Regions from separate parts of the Homo sapiens genome. Here regions 1 and 3 are each linked to region 2. The links are contacts of gene promoters, found by promoter capture Hi-C in blood cells and fetal thymus (Javierre and others, 2016). All regions are on one chromosome and are shown on one strand. Each heading gives the region's core, a stretch centred on a gene start or on the middle of the fragment in contact. The rest is flanking DNA. Distances are from core to core; before and after follow the strand shown.

Region 1 (2,700 bases), core at 174-2,673, 320 kb after region 2:
CCTTGGAGCTCAGGGGCAGCAGATAATCTGAGCCAGCTGGAGCAGGTGGGGTCGCTCTTGGCTGGAACGGCCATGGAAAACCCCAACCAAAGACAGCACTTGGGAGAACATCTATGAAAATGTGAAAGTCCATACCCTTGACCCAGCTGTTCTACAGATATGATTTGTGTAAAATAACGTAAGTGAGAATATTTGCTATAGCAGTTTGTAATGGCCAAACATAGCAAAAAACCCTAACTATCCAGCAATGGTGACTAGATAAATTGTGATCCTTCCACACAAGGAATGCCATGTAGCTATTAAAAAGAATGAGGCAGCTCTACATGTGCTGATGTAGGATGAGTTACAAGATACATATAGTTAACACAAAAGAAGAGCTCAGAACAGTGTATATGATAGCGTTTGTATTAAATATAACAAATATACTTGTCTATTTGCACGTACGGCTGAATCTGGAAGGATATACAAGAGACTGCCACTGCCTTGAGACTGGGAGGCCTAGGGGACAGGAACGGGAGGGAGACCTTTTATTGTGCATCTGTTTGAATCTTTTGAATTTTGCACTATGTGTATACTTTACAATTCAATAAATACTCATGTTTTCAAAAGAAAACAAAAAAGCATTTAGAAACAAACAGGCCAGACGTGGTGGCTCACCTTTGGGAGGCTGAGGAGGGAGGATTGATATAGCTGGGGATGTCAAGGCTGCAGTGAGCCATGATCCTGCCACTGCACTCCAGCCTGGGTGACAGAGTGAGATTCTGTCTCAAAAAAAAGAAACTGGGATGACACAGCAGTGTCTTCACTTATATCCTACGCCTCCACTGCTAGCTATGCGACCCTGGACAAGTTAATTTACCTCTATGTCCCAGTTTCTGTAAAACAGTGGTAACTTTTTGGAAAGGTTATTTTGAAGAGTAAGTTAATTAATATGTAAAGAGCTGGAAGAGCGCCTGGCACTGAATCAGCATTATGAAGTGTTAGATATTGCTATTTTGCTGCCCCAGACCAACTCCAAAGCAACGCCACTTGAGCCATGCCGGCTCTCCCTGCTGCTGCTTCTACCTAAATACTTCATTCATTTAACAAATAATTTTATTTTCTTTCTTTTTTTTTTTTTTGAGATGGGGTTTCGCTCTTGTTCCTCAGGCTGGAGTTCAATGACGCGATCTCGGCTCACTGCAACCTCCGCCTCCTGGGCTCAAGCGATCCTCTCACCTCAGCCTCCCGAGTAGCTGGGACTCCAGGCGAGCGCCACCATGCCCGCTAATTATTTTTTGTGTGGAGACAGGGTCGCATTATATTACCCAGGCCGGTCTCAAGTTCCTGGACTCAAGCGATCCTCCTGCATCAGCCTCCCAAAGTACTGGGATTACAGGCATGAGCCATCGCACCCGGCCTTAACAAATGCTTTTCTTTCTGAGACGGAGTCTCGCTCTGTCGCCCAGGCTGGAGTGCAGTGGGCGATCTCGGCTCACTGCAACCTCCGCCTCCCCGGTTCATGCGCCTCGGCCTCCCAAAATGCTGGGATTGCGGATCTGAGCCACCGCGCCCGGCCTGAGGTGATTTTTAACAAGTACAGCCGTAGCTGCAGATATCCTGGTTCTGTAGGAACAATGAGGTATGGATGGATCCATAGCTGGACCTATGGATGGGATGGATCCCCGGCAGGCCCTGGACGGAGGGAAATGCTCTGGTTTGCTAAGCCCGGCATCGAGTGAGACCCACCCACAAAGCTAACCGTGGAAGTCACTGGCGGCCTCCTTCGCCCTGCCGCCGGGGAACCCTGCCGGTGGCTCTCGACCTGCTCCCGGGCCATCTGGTGACACTGACTTCGCAGCCACCACCTTAATTGGCGCATTCGACCCAAATAATAACCAGGGAACCTGTGGGCGGTCAAAGGCCCGGCTCTGCGGTCGGCCCTCCCAGGCCCCTCTCCCTGCCCTGTGAGGCCAGAAAGTTACTTCTCCGAGGCCGTTCCCCATGTCGAGAAATATCTCCCGCTTGAGGTTCTGTGGGGTAGGGGAGGTTCGTGCATTTCTCACAGAAAACCTCGCACAGACCCGCGACTGCCTTTATTAACAGCTCTCAGGAGACTGCCTGCAGCCGGGGGGTGCCTCCGGCCCCATGCTCGCGGGCAAGCAGGGATAAGCTGTGCCTCCAAAAGGGCCAACGGGAACTCCGCGGTCCCTGAACTTCCGGTGCTGGCGGACTCCTCGCTCCAGGGCCACCAGGAGCCGCGGCGTGAGTGCGTGCCGGGACCGAGCGCGGGGTCTCTGAGGAACTCCAAGGCTGCCCAAGCCTACGGACCCAGCCACATTGGCGAACCGGAGACCGCCCGATTCCACCACCCCCGCGCTCCCCTCACAGCCGGCGCCAAAAACGCCAGTCCCACGACGCAGGCCGGGACCCGCGCGCCCACGGCCCAATCAGCGCGGACCTTGCACAAAGCGAGCCCCGCCCCCACGGCGCCGTTGCCAGCCCCTCCCCCTCCCGTGGCCGCCTCGGCCCGCCTACTCCCCGCCCCGCGCCGTTCACGGTTAGAGGCTCGCGATTGGCTCATGGGGACGGCCGCGAGCTTTGGTTGGTCGGCGCGGAGTCACGAGGGCGCCGTCGTCGCCTTTCCACAGGCGATTACTGGGCAGGCTCAGTCTTTCGCCTCAGTCTCGAGCTCTCGCTGGCCTTCGGGTGTACGTGCTC
Region 2 (2,700 bases), core at 93-2,592:
TGTCCTTCACCTTTTACCCACTCAGTGCCTGACAAATAACAGGCTGAAAAGATATTTGTTGAATTACATGGAAGAAAAAATTGGGTGAGTTCCCAGATGGGTGAAAGTGGGGACAGGCAGAGGAAGGAAGGCCAAGAGAAGGACAGAGGAGGTTTCCAAGGAAACCGTGGCTCACACTGTAATTTTACCTACTTCCTGAAATCACATTAAATGTCACCTTGAGTGGCAAAAAACAAAACACCAAATCCTACCTAGGCTGAAAATAAATAAATATCACACTCCCTCACTCGCAAGAAATCCACCAAATAAATGCTACCTAATTCTGGGTGTTTCAACAGTGGATAGGAAAACCGTTCAAGGAGAATAATTCACATTGCCATGCTGCTAAAAATATCACCTCCTTAGTGTGGTGCAAAGAGTCCAGACTGCAAGTCAGCCGACTTAGGGCTGAATTCTAACTCTGCCCGAACTTGCTGTGATCTGTGGCCAATCCCTTCGCCTCTCTGGGCCTCAATTTCCTCATACGTAACAACAGGGGATAGATTAGCAAAGTCCCTTTATGTTTTGATATTCTGAGTATACAATCCATAGCTCTCCCGGTGCAAACCAGGAATACAGCAAAAAACCCTGAAATACATGTAAAAGGCGCCTCAGACCAACAAACAAGCACGATTTGAAGAAGTCATTTTGTTCTCTTTCACGGTTTAATCAGTGTTTTTGTTTGTTGTTTGCAGCCTTACCATGATTTGCAGATGTCTGAGTTCCATGTAAACAGAAGTTAACTCTCTGCGGGCTGTCATCTTCTTTTGAGGGTGAGAAGGGTCTTCCCGTTGGGTTTCAAGTCTCGGGATTCCGAAACGACCAACTCAGCGGGCGGGTTTGTGAATTTGCGCACACTGCGCGGCACACTGGAGTCTAAGTTACAGAGGAACCGAGTGCAGGGGATGCTGGGATTTGTAGTCCCCGGGCCTCTTTGTGGTGCGCTGGGATCTGTGGTCCCCCGAGTGCGCCGCTGGAATGCTGGGAAATGTAGTCTCTGTCGCGTCGCACAGTGCAACTCAGCTGCCGTCTCAGACGGCTAGTGTGCTCAGTGGCTGGAGCAGGTCCCTAAAGCCTCTGCAGATCCGAAGCCAACCCTCCGCTGGGACAAACTCTAGGCAACAACACCAGATGAATATTGTGTCCTATGGGACTTCCCGGGGAGGGCCCTTCCCATTGACGTTAACAGTCCCCCTGCGAAGCCGCTGCGCGCTCCTACTGGCTGGTTGAGATGCCAATCGCCAAGGCTGGCTTTCCATTGGTTCCAGGAGGGCACTGCGAGGCTAGGGGGAAGGAGAAGGGATCAGAAGCGGGAGCTGAGGGGAGAGAGAGGCCGGTCCTGGTCTGGCCGCTGCGGCTGCTAGCCCGAGGTCTCCAAGCCGGGCTGCGGCTCCATCCTCGGCTCCTGGGCACCGTCTGCGAGGCTCCGCCGACCAGAGTGAGAAAGCCGCGGGCGGCGACCGCCGCATCATGTCAGCCAAGGACGAGCGGGCCAGGGAGATCCTGAGGGGCTTCAAACTGTATCCGTCCGGGAGCGGGGCGGGGCCGGGAGGACTTGGGAGGCGGCCGCTCACTGAGGAGACTGGCCGGGGGCGGGGGCCGCGCCAGGTGGGCCCCACAGAAGAAGGGCCGCGGGAGGGGAGAGGAAAGGAACAGCGTGCCGAGCACCCGGCGGGACCCGGCGCGAGAGGCGCCCCAAGGGGCGTCCTGAGGGAGGAAGGGGACGTTGACGGGAGCGCCGGGGGGTGGCGGGTGGAGACGGGGGAGCCTGGGGGACGGGGCTGCGAGAGGTGCCGGGCGTCGGAAACGCTGTCGGAGAAGCCGGCTGGGTTCCGATCCCCGGCCGGGACCCAGAGGCCGGGATGGGGCTGCGGCCCGCGGAGAAGGGCTGAGGGGGCGCGGTGGGCTGATCTCGAAGCCTAGAAGCCTCTTTGGCTATAAGCCTACCCGGGGAGCGGGGAACAGTGACTTGGAGCGGGCGACCTTGTGTGGGACAAATACCAGTGCTTTTAAAACTCTCTCAGGTCCCCCACCGCACCGCACCGCACCCCACCCCCGTCTGGTTTCCACAACTTCTCTTCCAAACTTGTGGCTTCTTCCAGGACTGGAGTAGTTGGGGGAGGTGGGGAAAGAGAAGTCCAAGATCGACCTCGTCTTAACACTCTTGGCCTTCTCAGGCATTGGTCACTGCTTCCCCCTCAGCGCCTCAGTTTTCTTTCCAGCAAGATGAGGACCATAGGCTTAGGTGTGGGGTGCCTCGCGCTGGGACTCCTAGCCGAGGTGTCTTTGCTCGCTCCTGTCGGTGCGGTTATGCCTAGCTGTGGTGGAGCTGTCCAGCAATGGTGTGATGTCGCTGGGGCCACGGTAGGATAGAGTGGGGTAGAGAAATCATTGCCTCGGGCCTGTTGTGGTGCCCCTTTTGCATCCTCTCCGTAAGGAAGCTTTGTGTTTTCGTGGAGTGTGTTAGTCTGTCACCATATGATGCAGATGAAAAAATGCAAACTTGGATATTCAAATTTTCCATTCTCCTGCCAACTTTAATCTCTTCATGCATCCTATCTGTAATCTATAGTACGAACGTTCTTAAATTGCTCCCTCAGTGAAAAGGTAGTCACCACTTCAGGGCTCCTCCCTTGGAGGTTTAGTAAAGCACTGTTTTCT
Region 3 (2,700 bases), core at 131-2,630, 270 kb after region 2:
GCAGCCTGGGAGACAGAGTCGGTCTCAAAGCAAAAAAACAAAAACAAAAACAAAAAACACAAACCTCAAAAGTGCTATTGCAAACACTTTTCAACTAGTATTACAAGTCCACACTAAACTGGATACCAAAACCTGACCAGGTCATTTTGAGAAATCACAGACCACTCTCTCTTTAATGAGCATAGATACAAAAATTCCAGAAATATTAGCAAATTGAATATCAATGTTATGCAAAGAGTAATACATCATAATGTATCGTGACCAAGTGTGGGTTATTTTGGGAATGCCAAGGTGTTCTTTGTTTGTAAAGTGATACTGGTTTTCTGGTAATACTGGTTTAAATCTCTTCATTCTTTAAATTGATTCATTAAAATCCATTCATTTATGGCCCAGGAGGGCGGTGCTTTCCCTCAGCCCTGCCTGGCTGTTTTAAATTAAAAAATAAAAAAGAAAAAAAAAGTCTATTACTTTGTGTACCTGCCAAACATGTTTTCATATTTCTTCTTTTGACATAGTCCTCACTATGTTCTTCTGAGAGTCTCTCCTTTGGAATTTGAAAATAGATAGGTTTAAGTTGAGTCCTGAAAGAATTAAGGTGGGTTAGTGGGTACACAGCTAATGAATATGGAATGTTTCACATGTGCAGCCATTGTACAAGGGCTTTATGCCAGGGGTCCCCAAGCCCTGGGCCACAGACTGGTCTATGGCCTGTTATGAACCAGGCCGCACAGCAGGAGGTGAGTGGTGGGCAAGTGAGGGAAGCTTCATCTGAATTTACAGCTGCCTCCCCATTGCTTGCATTACTGCCTGAGCTCCGCCTCCTGTCAGATCAGCTGCAGCAATAGCGTCTCATAGGAACACAGACCCTATTGTGAACTGCGCATGTGAGGAATCTAGGTTGTACGCTCCTTATGAGAATCTAATGCCTGATGATTTGTCACTGTCTCCCATCACCCCCAGATGGGACTGTCTAGTTGCAGGAAAACAAGCTCAGGGCACCCACTGATTCTACATTATGTTGAGTTGTATTTCATTATATATTACAATGTAATAACAGAAATAAAGTGCACAATCAATGTAATGTACTTGAATCATCCCTCTCCCCTCCCACCGGATGCATGAAAAATTGTCATCCACAAAACCGGTCCCTGGTGCCAAAAAGGTTTGGGACCACTGCTTTATACATTGGTTCATTTCATCCTCACTGTGACCGGGTTAGGTAGGCATCATATAGCTCCATTTTTTAGACAAGAAAGTGTGCTCGCTTCGGCAGCACATATACTAAAATTAGACAAGAAAGCAGATTTAGCCATTAACCAGCTTGCTCATGTTTCCAGAACTAGTAAGTGACAGCCAGGGTTATACATAGGTCTGCTGAATCCAAACCCCCTATACCTTCCCCATTCATTTCTCAGTCTTCTCCTAAGCAGCTTGTTCTGAGAGGCAGATAGCATTTATTTGTTGTCCATTTTGAGCAGCTGGTTGTGTGATAGAAACTTTCTTCAACCCTCTTCAGTCTAATTGTTTTAATTAATCAAATGTAAAAGTGGGTTTTGGGTGCCCTTGTCACACACACTTATTAGGGATGATGGACTTGTTAATTTACTTGACTGTAGTAACCATTTTGCCATAAGTATATTAAAACAGTTATACACTTTATACAATTTTTTAAAAAGTAAAAGTAGGGAAATCATGAAAATTATCCATCCATACCTTTTGATTTTAATTTAAGACATTATGTATTCTTTTGGCAATATTTTGATACAGGACCAAGGCCTTATCTTTGAGTCCACTGCTGGAGTAGCTTATCTTCCCTGCATAAAATACACACATAATGCATCTTCTGCAATTTAAAGTTTGTTTCTTTAAAGCAAAGGAAAACTCTAACATCCTAGTAAGTAAAGCAGTTTGAATACAGATTCCCACAGTTTTACAGCTTTTCCCATTCTTTTATGGTTGCTCATGCACCCTTAACTTGATTGCAGTTTTTTAAGCTTTATCAAGTACCTCCAAAGCACTGAAGTTTGTTTTCATAGACTCAATAACTTTTTGCACTTATTTTATTTTATTTTTTGAGATGGAGTCTCACTTTTGTTGCCCAGGCTTGAGTGCAATGGCTCAGTCTTGGCTCACTGCAACTTCCAGCTCCTGAGTTCAGGTAATTCTTTTGCCTCACCCTCCCAAGTAGCTGGGATTACAGGCATGTGCCACCACGCCCGGCTAATTTTTTATTTTTAGTAGAGATGGGGTTTCATCATGTTGGTCAATCTGGTCTCGAACTCCTCACCTCATGTGATCTGCCCGCCTCGGCCTCCCAAAGTGTTGGGATTATAGGTGTGAGCCACTGCACCCCACCCTTTTTGCGTTGATGGTATTGGTTTATGTGATGTTTAGTTAATTTTGCAGTTGAAACTGCAAATACAGGTTAGCAAACAACACAGCGGGTTTTTATTAAAGATACAGTTCAGCTCACAGGCATAGAGACATCACATTAGTAGGAGTACCACAGAGTGGCCCACTCATGCTTGGGATTTCATAAGCATCAAGTTATTATAGTAAGACCTGTTTGGAATTGAGACAGTCATTTAATCCAGCCAGTTGGTTACGTTGACATAGATAAGAGAGCATGTACTGTATCGGTTGAGTATCCCTTATTCGAAATGCTTGGGACTGGAAATGTTTTAGACTTCAGATTTTTTG

Evidence for each region. Contacts are between HindIII fragments. The CHiCAGO score rates a contact against its expected background, and 5 or more counts as called.
Region 1: a contact is called between a fragment that was not itself captured here and the fragment with the promoter of PDE6D in region 2, in 1 of 17 cell types (non-activated CD4 T cells). The highest score is 5.1, in non-activated CD4 T cells.
Region 3: a fragment that was not itself captured here is called in contact with the fragment with the promoter of PDE6D in region 2 in 1 of 17 cell types (neutrophils); the score reaches 5.4 in neutrophils.

The regions. Positions count from the first base shown.
Region 1 is chr2:231,464,447-231,467,146 of GRCh38, reverse strand. It overlaps NCL (nucleolin), which reads left to right and starts at 2,663. Exons shown (of 14, transcript NM_005381.3): 1 at 2,663-2,700. RefSeq lists enhancers at 2,109-2,208, 2,254-2,700 and a silencer at 2,339-2,688. The HindIII fragment of the contact is 4,015 bases long and covers 1-2,700 here.
Region 2 is chr2:231,779,924-231,782,623 of GRCh38, reverse strand. It overlaps PDE6D (phosphodiesterase 6D), which reads left to right and starts at 1,342. Exons shown (of 5, transcript NM_002601.4): 1 at 1,342-1,559. The coding sequence starts at 1,510. It also overlaps a transcript of COPS7B not described here. RefSeq lists enhancers at 1,316-1,545, 2,096-2,175 and silencers at 1,756-1,805, 1,929-2,152. The HindIII fragment of the contact is 3,911 bases long and covers 1-2,482 here.
Region 3 is chr2:231,510,482-231,513,181 of GRCh38, reverse strand. The region is part of intron 2 of LINC00471 (long intergenic non-protein coding RNA 471); the gene reads left to right. Among named protein-coding and RNA genes, the nearest start is that of LINC00471, 2.5 kb to the left of the region's middle. The HindIII fragment of the contact is 1,232 bases long and covers 765-1,996 here.